2 separate regions of the Homo sapiens genome follow, and region 1 is linked to region 2. The links are contacts of gene promoters, found by promoter capture Hi-C in human tissues and cell types (Jung and others, 2019). All regions are on one chromosome and are shown on one strand. The core of a region is centred on a gene start or on the middle of the fragment in contact, and the rest is flanking DNA. Distances in the headings are between cores, read along the strand shown.

Region 1 (6,911 bases), core at 4,353-6,852, 180 kb after region 2:
TTTCCTGCCCGGGAACACCCTGAGACTTTCGGAGGTTGGAAAATAAATCCTCACGGGATCTTTTTTTTCCTTACCATTTATTGTTTCGTGAAGGTTTCCTCCCTTAACACATTTGTATTAAAGATGTTTTTACATTAGAGCTCGCAAAAATACTTGAATTGCTTGGTGACAAGAAACTAAGGCATGGAACAATTCTTATTAACTTTGCCTTTTAAAAAAAAAAAAATTTTTTTTTTGACTTTTAAAATCACGTGTTGGCTTGCTTTTTTTTTTTTTTTTTTTTTTTTTTTTAAATCTCAGGGATCAGTTATTTTAAGTTCCAGGGTACATGTGCAGGATGTAAAGGTTTGTTACAGAGGTGCCATGGTGGTTTGCTGCACCTATCAACCCACCACCTAGGTAACTTTGTTTTTTTTTTTTTGTTTTTGTTTTTGTTTTTTTGGTTTTTTTTTTTTTTGAGACGGAGTCTTGCTTTGTCGCCCAGGCTGGAGTGCAGTGGCGCGATTCGGCTCACTGCAACCTCCACCTCCCAGGTTCAAGCGATTCTCCTGCCTCAGTCTCCTGACTAGCTGAGATTACAGGCGTGTGCCACCACGCCCGGCTAATTTTGTATTTTTAGTAGAGATGGGGTTTCACCATGTTGGCTAGGCTGGTCTCAAACTTCTGACCTCAGGTGATCCAGCCACCTTGGCTTCCCAAAGTGCTGGAATTATAGGCATGAGCCACTGTACCTGGCCAACTTTGCATTTAAATAGATGTTGAATTAATTGTTAGCTTTCTTTCAAACATACATGTAACTTAATGTGTATCTGAAAACTACAGGGTAAAAGCCTTTTCAGATTTTTAGGTGAAAGGGAGGGGAGTGAGGGTAGACAGAAGGAACAGCTCTGCTGGGTCTTTCAGAACATCCTCTCCCTGTTTCCTGGCTGTCCCCACAGGGCTGTGTCACCTGCTCCCCAATCATCCAGCCGCCTGCAACCCCCCTTCAGCCCCCACCCCACATTGCTGTCCAGTACCCCCAAGCCCCCAGGGACGTCAGAACCACGGAGCTGCTCCTCCATCTCGACGGCGCTGCCTCAGGTCAACGAGGACCTTGTGTCTCTTCCACACCAGTTGCCAGAGGCCAGTGAGCCCCCCCAGAGCCCCTCTGAGAAGAGGAAAAAGACCTTTGTGGGAGAGCCGCAGAGGCTGGGCTCAGAGACGCGCCTCCCACAGCACATCAGGGAGGCCACTGCGGCTCCCCACGGGAAGAGGAAGAGGAAGAAGAAGAAGCGCCCGGAGGACACAGCTGCCAGCGCCCTGCAGGAGGGGCAGACACAGAGACAGCCTGGGAGCCCCATGTACAGGAGGGAGGGCCAGGCACAGCTGCCCGCTGTCAGACGGCAGGAAGATGGCACACAGCCACAGGTGAATGGCCAGCAGGTGGGATGTGTTACGGACGGCCACCACGCGAGCAGCAGGAAGCGGAGGAGGAAAGGAGCAGAAGGTCTTGGTGAAGAAGGCGGCCTGCACCAGGACCCACTTCGGCACAGGTAAGGGCAGGAGCAAAGTGGCATCTGTCTACCTCTGACGAGAAACAAAGCAAAACCACAGAATCTACCCCCAAGTAGGTATGGTCTGGAAACGTAGTCTGCTTGCGTGGTTTTCTAAAATGTGGATTTGTGATCAGATGTCTCCTCTGGCTGGGTGTGGTGGCTCACACCTGTAATCCTAGCACTTTGGGAGGCTGAGGCGGGTGGATCACTTCAACCCAGGAGTTTGAGACCAGCCTAGGCAATATGGAAAAGCCCTTTCTCTACCAAAAACAAAAATTGGTTGGGCATGGTGGCATGCACCTATAGTCCCAGCTACTCAGGAGGCTGAGGTGGGAGGATGGTTTGAGCCCAGGAGGTGGAGGTTGCAGTGAGCTGAGATCGCGTCACTGCACTACAGCCTGGGTGACAGCTAAACCCTGTCTAAAAAAAAAGAAAAAAGAAAAAATATCTCCTCTGATAAATACCAGTGGATTGATCCTTGAAGCGACAGTGGTGTGGACAGTAGTGTCCATCATTGTATGTGCAGGGCCGTTCAAGGATGCTGGATCAGGTGTCCCGGGCCAGGCCAGGATCTGCCGTTTCATCAGGTCACAGTAGCCTGCACATTGGCGTCAACAGGCTTGGCTCAGTTAGGATGGGAAACGCGACTGGTTTTCCCTCTACTGTCTCCGTGGCTGCGTGTGGAGCGTCCGCTAATGCGTGTGGGGGGAAGAATGTTGCAGGGACCTGCGTGCACTGGGTCACAGCTGGGGTGGCACCTTCTCCATGTTGCAGGCGGGTGTCTGTGCGCTCCTGCTCCCCTTCCAATTTGCTCAGAGCTGACTGCTGCCTCTCACTTCCAAGCAGCTGCTCTCCCATGGGTGATGGTGATCCAGAGGCCATGGAAGAGTCTCCAAGGAAAAAGAAAAAGAAAAAAAGAAAGCAGGAGACACAGCGGGCAGTAGAAGAGGATGGGCATCTCAAATGCCCAAGGAGTGCCAAGCCCCAAGATGCTGTTGTCCCCGAGTCCAGCAGCTGCGCACCATCCGCGAATGGCTGGTGTCCTGGGGACCGCATGGGTATGCACCGGGCGAGGGGGTGGGAACCGCATGGGTGTGCACCGGGCGAGGGGTTGGGGGACCGCATGGGTGTGCACCGGGCGAGGGGTTGGGGGACCGCATGGGCGTGCACTGGGCGAGGGGTTGGACCGCGTGGGTGTGCACCGGGCGAGGGGGTGGGGGACCGCGTGGGTGTGCACCAGGCGAGGGGTTGGGGGACCGCGTGGGTGTGCACCGGGCAAGGGGGTGGGGGACCGCGTGGGTGTGCACCGGGTGAGGGGGTATTGGGGAGTGCACAGGCTGAGAGCAGCGTCTACTGCATCTGAGCTTGGGAGGGTCTGGGAGAAGATGTGGAGGGCCCTGGGACCCTACCAACCTTCACCCCCCACCCCCGAGTCTGCTCCCTTGGGTGATGGGGTTGAAGCTTCCTCATGTGTCACAGCATTTGACTGAAACAGCCCCATGAGAGAGGTTACAGTGCACATGAACTTTAAAACATTCTGTGAATGCCAGTGGGTCTTCCGATTCAAAGCTGTTCTGTCTACAGCTTCTCACGGAATGACTCCCTGAACTCCCAGCCTGAGTTTTTTTCTGTGATGGTTGAATTTAGAAGAGTTGGGTTCAAAAGTGAATCCTCCTCTCCCTCTATGTAGCTGGGCCATTCAGAACATAGCACGGTTTGCTTGCTGTTGGGGACCTGTGTGCTGTGGCTGTCCTTGGGCACCACCCCTCAATCGGAGGGTGTTTTGTTTTCTTTAGGGCTGGCTGGGGCATGCCTTGGCAGGCACCCGCCACAGAACACATTTGTTAAGTGAAGGGGAGAGAAAGTCCTGGCTGCTTGGTATAGGGGGCCGAGCTTGAGTGAGGCCTCCTCTGCAGTCTGGAAGGTCTGATTATGGCAGTGCATCTGGGGGTCAGCAGGACCTTAGAGACTGATTTGTATTTATCCAACTCTTAAGAAAGGAATTTATCGTTAAAAATGAAATGGTATGAAATAAATAGCAAAACGTGGGTGCTAGCTAGTGCCGACTGAGTTTGCTGGCCAGCATGCTCTCAGAAGTACTGCCCTGGCCGGGGGTGGTGGCTCACGCCTGTAATCCCAACACTTTGGGAGGCCGAGGCGGGCGGATCACAAGGTTAGGAGATCGAGACCATCCTGGCTGACACGGTGAAACCCCGTCTCTACTAAAAATACAAAAAGTTAGCCAGGCATGGTGGCGGGCGCCTCTAGTCCCAGCTACTCGGGAGGCTGAGGCAGGAGAATGGTGTGAACCCAGGAGGCGGAGCTTGCAGTGAGCCGAGATTGCGCCACTGCACTCCAGCCTGGGTGACAGAGTGAGACTCCGTCTCAAAAAAAAAAAAAAAAAAAAAAAAATACTGCCCTAACATGGCACCAGAGCTGTGCTCCGTGCCACCCTCGGAGCGAAGTGGAGTTGGCTTGTTAGTGCAAGGGACATCACTTGAGCACTTGCGGTGCGCCAGGGTCCATGCCAGGTGCTGGTTGTGTCTACTGAAGTGCGCCCTGGGCCCTCGGGGCTCCCTGGCAGAGCCAGAACCACACAGTAAGGGCTCATGCTCAGCAAGGAGGCGCTGGGGGCCGCATGGGCTCTTGCAGTCCTGTGCACCTGAGGAGAGTGGCTAAATGGGCAGGGCACCAGACCCAAGGGCAGGAGGCGCAGCACGTTGGGAGCAGGCAGGCTGCTCTGCATGGCCGGGTCCCTGGGCTGTGTGGATGAGATGGGAACCATGGAAGCCACTGTGTGGGGGCAGGGGACACTTAGCCTGGAGCTCACTGAGGAATTGGAGGCAGGGAGAAATGAGGTCAGATTTGTGTGAAGGGAGGTGAGTATATTCCAGGGGCTATGTGGCTAGCTGGGCAGAGGACGAGTTCAGAAAGGGTTTCTAGAACCCGATGAGGGTGGTGAGTGCTGTCCTGGTCCCGAGGTGCTGGGTGGACCTGTGCGGTGTTGCTGATGGGGACCAGGTTCCCCCTGGACAGGGCTTAGGAGGTCGGGCCCCTGATGGCAGCAGCCAAGCTTGGCCGTTCCCTCCACCCCTGTGGCCATCCAGGTGTCAGGCTGGTCCTGGGGCATGGGCCTCTCCCGTAGGTGAGGTGGATTCCATTTAGATCTAGTTCTCTTCTCTCCTTCTGTCAGACTGAGGACTTAACACTACTGGTTAAAGGGGTTTTGGAGGGTTTTTTTTTTTTTGGTTTTTAGCTTTTTGTTATTTTCCATGTTTTCTTTCTCATGAATTGACTTGGACAACAGCCTTCTCTATTGTGTCAGGTCATTAGTAAATTAAGCATGTAAGCATTAGTAAATAAGCATTTAGGCTGGGCGCCATGGCTCATGCCTGTAATCCCAGCACCTTGGGAGGCCAGTGGGAGTCCCAAGGAGTTTGAGACCAACCTAGGAAACATAGTGAGACCCTGTCTTTAAAAAAAAAAAAAAAAAAAAAAAAAAAAGGCAAGCATCCACTTACTGTAAGTTGTTTTATAATTTAAGGTGTGCGATTGCTTCCCCAGTGGGTTATTTTAAACGTCTGTAAATGTTTCTTGGCTGCTCCGATTGCAGGGCTGAGCCAGGCCCCTCCTGTGTCTTGGAATGGAGAGCGGGAGTCTGATGTGGTCCAGGAACTGCTCAAATACTCATCTGATAAAGCTTACGGGAGAAAAGGTACTGATTTGGAGACAGGACTTCTGTTTGCCTTTCATTGGTTGGTTTTGTAGGAGGGAAGGGTGTGGAATGGATCCTGGTGCACTGTGAGTGTGGCGGGCGGGCATCGCTCGGCTTTGAGAATGGGAAGAGGAATCTCAACACTGGCTGGAGTCCTCTTTAAACCCTCAGCCGTGGCACGAAGGTGGCTTCTGTCCGTGGCAGGATCCAGAACAGCTGCTTCTGAGGGTTGGGGCAGGGTGAGGAGCCCCACACATGCTGTGTCTTGGGTAGGGAAGGGGCAGAGTGACGAAGCTCTTCCAACCTGGGTAATGTCACTTCTTGCTCAGAGCATGTTTTTATTCAGACTTCGAGACCAAACATGACATCTTTGTTCCTCAGACGAGGGCATGGGTTTAGAAAGAACTGAACTCTTTGGCTGTGGTTTAGGGTTTAGCTAAGAGGGCATCGCTGGGGGTTCCATGCTGACCGACCACACATGGGCGTCGAGCCGTCCTCCTCTTGTCCTTCTCTTCACCACAAGGTGGCACTCAAAATTGTTGACTAATTATGAGTAGACTAGTTGGTAAATGACACTCTTGAAGTGAAGCCACAGGGGACCTGGGAACCTGCACTCGTGCTGACCCCCGTGTCTGCCTGGTAGTTCTGACCTGGGATGGCAAGATGTCGGCGGTCAGTCAGGATGCTATTGAAGACAGCAGACAGGCCCGGACTGAGACCGTGGTTGATGACTGGGACGAAGAGTTTGACCGAGGGAAGGTATGATGTGTGATGCTGACCACAGGCTTGAGGGAGCAGGGCGGCGTGGCTCAGCTCAGAGCCGGGGCAGTTGGAGGTGGCGGCAGTGGCATGAAGCGGCCGAGCATGAGAAGAGCCAGGCTGCCCAGGCCTGTCCGGGCGTGTGGCCATGGACAGGGCATGCATCCTCGCAGCTTCCGCCCCTTTGTCAATAGGGGGACTGCAGGTCGCCGTGCACAGGGGTCATTGTGAAGAGTGGGTCTCCAGAGAGCTCATGAGAGCCCGGCCTGTGTGCAGGACCTGCATGCAGCATGGAGCCCCGTGGGCCAGGAAAGAGCCGTTTTTGGGAACTGTGATGCCTGTGATTCTTGGTCTAGGAAAAGAAAATTAAAAAATTTAAGAGAGAGAAGAGGAGAAACTTCAACGCCTTCCAGAAACTTCAGACTCGACGGAACTTCTGGTCTGTGACTCACCCAGCAAAGGCTGCCAGCCTCAGCTATCGCCGCTGACTGTGCCCCTGTGGAAGGAGGTCGGTTCCGAGGGGGTGGGTGTAAGGGTGAGGTGGGGGTGTGTGTGCCGTGTATGTGTGTAGGGGTGTGGTGGGGTGTGGCGTGTGTGTATGATGTATGTGGGCTGTGTATCTGGCACATGTGTGTTGGGTGGTGTGTGTGGTGTGGGCGCGTCTGTGGTGTGTGTCCTAGTCACTTGGAGAAGGGTGTGTGTGGGATGCGTGTGTATAAGGGGGTGTGTGTGGGATGCGTGTGTATAAGGGGGTGTGTGTAGTGTGTGTTGGGTGTGGGGTGTGTACACCTGGCATCTGTGGCATGTGTTCTGGTCACTTGGAGAAGGGCATGTGTGGGGTGTGTGTGGGATGTGGGTTGTGTGTATATCTGGCATGTGTCCCAGTCACTTGCAGAAGGGTG
Region 2 (6,943 bases), core at 1,992-4,491:
GTTCAAGCGATTCTCCTGCCTCAGCCTCCCGAATAGCTGGGATTACAGGCGCCTACCACCATGTTTGGCTAATTTTTGTATTTTTTTGTAGACACGGGGTTTCACCATCTTGACCAGGCTGGTCTTGAACTCCTGACCTCGTGATCTACCCACCTCAGCCTCCTGAAGTGCTGGGTAGTTTCTTAAAAAGGTAAACATATATCTACCATATGACCCAGTAATCCTGCTCCTAGGTATTTACACAAAATAAATACTTATTTTCACACAAAGACTTGTATCCAAATGTTTCCAGCAGCTTTATGCATAATAGTGGAAGATGGAATGACCCAAATGTCCATCAGTGCAAACATGTATTAACAGTGGTGTTCTGTCCATACAGTGGGCCGCCACCCAGCAAAACCAGGAGCCAGTTACTGATTGTTGAGATAGCATGGATGGATCTCAGAAGCACTGTGGTAAGTAAAAGAAGCCACATGCAAAATATTAAATACTGTATGATTCCATTTAGAGGGAATTCTAGGGTCCAGGAGTGGTGCCTCATGCCTGTAATCCCAGCACTTTGGGAGGCAGAGGCAGGCGGATCACCTGAGTTCAGGGGTTCGAGGCCAGCCTGGCCAATGTGGAGAAACCCCTTCTCTACTAAAAATACAAAAATTAGCTGGGCGTGGTGGTGGGCGCACCTGTAATCCCAGCTACTCGGGAGGCCGAGGCAGGAGAATCACTTGGACCTGAGAGGCAGAGATTGCAGTGAGCCGAGATTGTTCCACTGCACTCCAGCCTGGGCAATGGAGGGAGACTGTGTCTTAAAAAAGAAGACAAAATAGAGGGAATTCTAGGAAAGGCAACCAGCAGTGGCAGAAGCTGAGAGGTGGTTGCTGGGAAGGGGCTGGGGGGAGGGGTGGCTGCAGAGGGGCATAAGAGAATTCTTAGGGGTGATTGAAACGCCCTAGGTAATGATTGTTGTCATGATACCATCGCTACACATTTGCCAAAACTTTGCACGTAAATTATATGCCAAGAAAGCCAATTTTTAAAAAGAAGGAAAGGATGGGTTTGAAACCCCAGTTCTTCCCCTACCAGCTGCACAACTTTAGCCGATTACGTCGCCTCACTGAGCCTCTGTTTTCTCATCTGTAACAGGGAATATAAGAGCAGCTGCTTCCCATCATGGCTGGAAGTATTAAATGCATTCATTTGTGGCAAGGCTTATAGTAATGCCTGGCGAAATCCATATTAGCTATTATAGGGAGCGTTCCTCAATTTGCGGAGAGGTTTGGGGTAGAGGCACAAAAGATGACCTTACAGGCCAGTTAACCATTCTCATCTCTGAAATGCCCCGCACTTTCCCTACCATGTCTTGGGAGCGGCTTCCTGATGACAGCAGTTCTGTCCACACGAATCTGAGGCTTTCACCCAGCTGTCTTCTCAGAGCCGAGCCGCTGCCCCTTCCCCTGCCTGTCCCCTGTCAGCGCTTCCCTCCACCCCATGGTCATCGCACACCGGAAAGGCCTTGCGAGCCCCAGGGGAGCAGATGTTGGTGCTCCGATTCCACGAGGAGGCCTCTGGGTTTTCCATTTTACCTGCCTGGATGGCTTAGGACTTTCCCGGACTCTGGGGCTAAAGATTCGGCACCTGAGTTTTAAAACCTTTCCCAGCACTTCCCAGAGATGCCCTCCCGTCCTCTGCACTCCTGTCCTTCCCTGGCCACTTGGGCAGAAGTCATTAGCACTGCTGAGAAGGGATGATGCTGGGGTTTCTGTGCACTCAGGCCCTTAATCCAGATGAGATTTTTTTAAACTCCCCACAGCCAGTTCTATTTCCAGCTGCACCTGCCCCTGGATCTTCACAGTTCCTCTGGAGGGGATTAGGCAAACCGTGCAGCTGCCTAAAACCTCACACCTTGAAGGAAATAGTCATTGAATGTCTGACCTCTGGGCTGGCTGTCTCGGACTCTAAGCTGCCAGGGAACCAGGGCCTTCCACCCAGTGGGACTGCCTGGGGGCTTTTAAATGCCCCTGCCTGTCCCCTACTCCCAGAGATGGTGACTTCCTGGGTCTAGGCATTAGGAGTTTGTAAAACTCCCTGATGATTCTTCTGTCCAGCCCAGGCTGAGAACCACTGGTCAGAGGCCTGGGCACATCCCAAGGCTCATCCAGAACCATGGGGTGCAAGTGACAGAAACAAGAGCGGCTGCTGATTGCCTCACTGAGCGGTGAAGCCCAGCCTTGACCATGGATTAGGCCAGCTGGACCCAGGAGCTCAGGCCGGAGGATGCCTGCTTCCCTCTGCTCTGCCCCACCGGCCCCAGCAGCCTGGGCCCACATCCTCTCAGTCAGAAGCTGGCTCTCACCGGCTGGCTGGGCTCACAGCCCCACCCTGAAACCAGCAGTGTGGCCCGGGGCCCCCGCAGGGCTCAGACAGCCAGGCCTTGGGTGGTTGAAGGCCAAGAGCTGGGGGCCCTCTGGGAACCACACAGCCGGGAATGGGAGGGGGTGCTCCCCAAGGGACAGTTGAGGTGCCGGCTTTCAGTGGGAGGAAAGGGAATGGGTATGAGCTGGACAGAGCCATTATGTCACCCAGAGAGGCTCTGTCCCCCGCCCCGCTGAGGGGGAGACAGTAGGAGAGTGGCCACAGGTCCAGCAGTGGCGAGCACAGGCTCTGGGGTCAGGTGTTGGAGCAGGGTCCAGCTCCTCCACTGGCCAGCTGCATACCTGGTTCTCAGTGCCTCCCTCCCCTGGGGACAGGGGACAGTGCCATGCAACCTTGTGGGGCACAGGCCCTCTGTGTGGTCAGCATGCCAAGAGCACAGAGAGGGTGGATTTGCACATAAGCAGCCCCCTGTGTGGTGTTCACCCAGCCAGCAACGTGCTAGACCCAGGAAAAGACTCGGAGCGCTCTGTCAGAGTCCACAGCCACACCACCAGGTGCAGACTGTCTGGGCCCAGAGCCTCTGCTTCTTCCCCTCCCGTCCACCAAACGCCAGCCCCTGACCAGCCTGGCGGCCTTTCCAACTGAGTGTGGCTGTTAGTCCTCTTGCAGGCCTTGCTCCAGCCAGACTCCCACCTTGGGCCTCTGCCAGCCTGGCACTGATAGCCACAGGCAGAGCTGAGACAAAAGAGAGGGGCCCTGGGGAGTATCAGCAGCAGCCAATCCCGGAAGACATCTATGTCAGGTGGTTTCTGGAAATCGAAAGTAGACTCTTTTCTGAAGCATTTCCTGGGATCAGCCTGACCACGCTCCATACTGGGAGAGGCTTCTGGGTCAAAGGACCAGTCTGCAGAGGGATCCTGTGGCTGGAAGCGAGGAGGCTCCACACGGCCGTTGCAGCTACCGCAGCCAGGTAAGCTCCTGCCTCTAGCTCTCAGGTGGGCACCCCTCTCAGTCTCTCTCTCTTTTTTATTTTTATTTTTTTTGAGACAGGGTCTCACTCTGTCACCCAGGCTGGAGTACAGTGATGCAATGTCCGCTCACTGCAGCCTCTGCCTCCTGGGTTCAAACGATTCTCCTGCCTCGGCCTCCCAAGTAGCTGGGATTACAGGCGCGTGCCACCACGCCCAGCTAATTTTTGTATTTTTAGTAGAGACAGGGTTTCGCCATCTTGGCCAGGCTGGTCTCAAACTCCTGACCTCTGGTGATCCACCCGCCTCGGCCTCCCAAAGTGTAGGGATTACAGGTGTGAGCCACCGCGCCCGGCCAGGGCACCCCTCTCTCTACACAGGCAAGTGGGGGTCATGCCTCCCTGTTTGCACATAGGCCTGGAGCTGGGGATCCAGGGCTCCTGAGTCCAGCAACAATCATTGCTGCTCCCAGGCCCACAGGGCCTCTGTGTACAGTTGGGCAGATTACTCACTGCACAAGGATACCAGCCAAAGGGCAAGTGGGTTAGAATTCAGCTTGGCCCTCTCTCAGACCTGTGCATTTGGCCTAGGCCTGCACCCACTCCAAGGAAGAGCACCTTTTTTTCTGATTTGCACGAAGGGGCCAACACAGGCAGCCGGGTCTCAACTGTATGAAGGAATCAGGCAAAAATAGCCGCTGCCACACAAAGGGCAGCGACGCCACCTGCCAGGTGCTTCGTTGCCCCCCCCCCTTTTTTTTTTGAGACAGAGTCTTGCTCTGTCACCCAGGCTGGAGTGCAGCGGCTCACTACAATCTCTGCCTGCCGGATTCAAGCAATTCTGTTGCCTCAGCCTCCTGAGTAGCTGGGACTACAGGTGCACACCACCATGCCCAGCTTATTATTATTATTATTTTGTATTTTTAGTAGAGCCGGGGTTTCACCATGTTGGCCAGGCTGGTCTTGAACTCCTGACCTCAAGTGATCCACCTGCCCCAGCCTCCCAAAGTTCTGGGATTACAGGCGTGAGCCATCGCGCCTGGCCAGTTGGCCATTTTTCCAAGGCCCTGAGTTACTCTCCCAGGACGGACAAACCTAGTGGCTGCAGCAGAGTGAAGTGGCTGGGGGCAGAAGTGGAGAGGGCGTCCACCCATACCGGCGTGCCTGGGACTGAGGGGTTTCCCAGGACACAGGGAAACTTCAGTGCTAAAACCAGCACAGTCCCCAGCACACAGGACAGGCGGTCACACCCTGGCCCCTTTAGCCATCTACTGACATTGACACAGGGAGGAGAGGTGGGCTCCCCCGAGCAGACCCCCTGCCTGTGGCTCACTGACTGTGGATGTGGAGCCCATTTGCCTCTCTGGGTGTCAGCTCATTCACTTGTAAGGTGAGGTGTAACTAAGGTGGTTCTCAGGGTCACGGTAAGGCCTCCAGTGGTGCCCGGGGAGCCCCGACAAGGGGTGGCTGCACAGTGCCAGCGAGCACGAGTCCCAGAGCAAAGCTGCTCACCAGCCAGTGCACCCAGCTCCCAGGGCGCTTGTTCATGCAGACTCCCATGCAGAGGGGCTAGGGCAAGGCCAGCCATGACTGCATTTCCGACAAGCTCTGGGGATGCCATTGCAGCCGTCCACCAGGCCCCCTCCAAGCAGCCTCAAGGTCACCAGGCCCAGACTCCCAGCCGGTGCCCACAGCAGTGCCACCCAGAGGCCTGCCCCAGGCTTGCTGAACTGAGGGGACAGTGTCAGGTATCACAGGATTCTTACCGAGCCAGAGAAACCATAACTGTCTCTCCATTGGCAGGGTGTGGGGGAGGGAGGCAGACGAAGACAAAAGCGTGGAAATTACACGGAGGCAAGAACACCAGGCCAGAAGGTGGAGACCCGGACCTCCCCAGTCCTGGCCTGAGTGTCAGTGTCTTGGGGATACTTCAGCATTTCCTCCCTGTTCTTCCCCCAGCCTGGCCCACCCTGGGCTGCAGCCCTGACCCTTTTCATCTATCTTCCCCATCGGAACACCACGGAGCCCCGATATATCTCCCTGCCACTTATCTCTGTCACCCCTCGCCCGGATTCTGTGCCCTCTCCTGACGAGTCCCCTCCCATCCACTCTCCAGGCTGCAGCCTCGTCTCTGCCTGCTGAGACCCTCTGGGACAGTCCCTGCAGGGGTCTGTTGCCTGAAGCTTAAGGCCGAGATCTTAACCAGGCTCACCCGGCCTCCCGACCTGGGCCCACGCCTGTGGCCTCCTCCATCTCCCCGCCCATGCCCGTGTGGCAGCCTTGCCCGGGGCCTGGTTTTTTGAGATGAGCTCACTTGCCTCTAGTCACCAATTCTTGCTGCCCTTACTGCCAGGGGGTGCCCCCAGCCCACGCTTCATCTAGCCAAGTGTTACACATCCTTCCAGGACCACACTGCAGACCAGGTGAGGGGCCCCCGCGGGGGCATCCACAGCACACGTCACACTTACTGGGATCATAGTGGGCTCTGCAAGAGAGGGACCCCGCCTGCCACACAGCCCAGGTTGGGCTGAAGGGTGAATGGGCAGGCCAGTCCCTGGGGCCTCGGGCCATCTGGCTCCCGTGCCTCACCCCTCCGCTTCTGTCTGCTGCAGGATCTGGGCATCCAGGCACGGCCATGACCCCTCCGAGGCTCTTCTGGGTGTGGCTGCTGGTTGCAGGAACCCAAGGTGAGCTGAGCCCCTGGGAAATACCAAAAGCAGAAGTGTGGAAGGCTGGTGCACCCTGGGGCTGCTCAGAGCTTCAAGGAGATATTCTGCCTGGGGCCCGGGGCCCAGCGGTTAGCCAGATCTTCTCTCCTGCTTGAAGCACCAGGTATCCCCAGTGATGATGACTTGGAGGTTCCCGGGGGCTCACCTGGGTTCAGGTGAGATGCAGGTTATAGAGAGGACACTAGGGAATCCTCCATTCCGTCCAGAGGGAACCAGAGGGGCTGATCAAACCAGCAGTCACAGGGGCCGTTGTGAGGTCAGTGGCCTTGGACGCAGGTCAGTCTTCCAGAGGGTCCTGGCTGCTTTTCCTCACATTCTTTACACTGTGAGCCCCTGGAAGCTCATGCTCATCCTGGGGGCCCCATGGAAGCCAGATGTACCCCCGACTGGATTCAGGCACCCAGCTCCTGCCCGGCTCTGTCAGCTCCTGTAGGGGCTGGAGTGTTGGTGGACTGAGTCCCAGAAGGACATGTGGGGCGGGGGAATCCCATTATCTGCCCTGGAAACATTCTGCCTGTGCTCCCAGGGGTCCCTAGGCCTGCTGCCCCCATAGGCCAGCACCCCCAAACTGCAGACACCCTCTGCAGGGCGGGTCAGCACGGGGCCTCCGTTCCCCTCCTATCCTTCCCTCAGGGTCTTGCCACCTCCACTCCCAGTGCTGGAGAACTCAGGGCTTCTCTGCCCCTGTTCTGTCTATGGAGTGAAGGGCTGAGACCCCTAAAACAAGGAAAGGCGAGTTTGGCCTCCTTGCGGGGTAGGGGGGGCTGTATGTATCTTCCACTCCTCCCTCATGGAGGTGCCCCTCATGGAGAGGCCAGGGGACCTTGAAGCCCTGAAATACAAGCTCAGCAGGGGAGACCCAGGACAGCATATGGGG

What was found. The method cuts DNA at HindIII sites, captures the fragments that hold promoters and counts their contacts. A contact is called where the count stands out against the background at its distance.
Region 1: a fragment that was not itself captured here is called in contact with the fragment with the promoter of LGALS3BP in region 2 in 1 of the 25 tissues and cell types used here (spleen).

The regions. Positions count from the first base shown.
Region 1 is chr17:78,798,006-78,804,916 of GRCh38, reverse strand. USP36 (ubiquitin specific peptidase 36) reads left to right here. Exons shown (of 21, transcript NM_001385174.1): 16 at 939-1,532; 17 at 2,382-2,593; 18 at 5,149-5,250; 19 at 5,894-6,009; 20 at 6,366-6,517. The coding sequence ends at 6,497. Among named protein-coding and RNA genes, the nearest start is that of CYTH1, 19 kb to the right of the region's middle. The HindIII fragment of the contact is 3,600 bases long and covers 3,803-6,911 here.
Region 2 is chr17:78,976,221-78,983,163 of GRCh38, reverse strand. It overlaps LGALS3BP (galectin 3 binding protein), which reads left to right and starts at 3,241. Exons shown (of 6, transcript NM_005567.4): 1 at 3,241-3,340; 2 at 5,950-6,024. The coding sequence starts at 5,973. RefSeq lists enhancers at 2,215-3,207, 6,305-6,943. The HindIII fragment of the contact is 8,620 bases long and covers 1-6,828 here.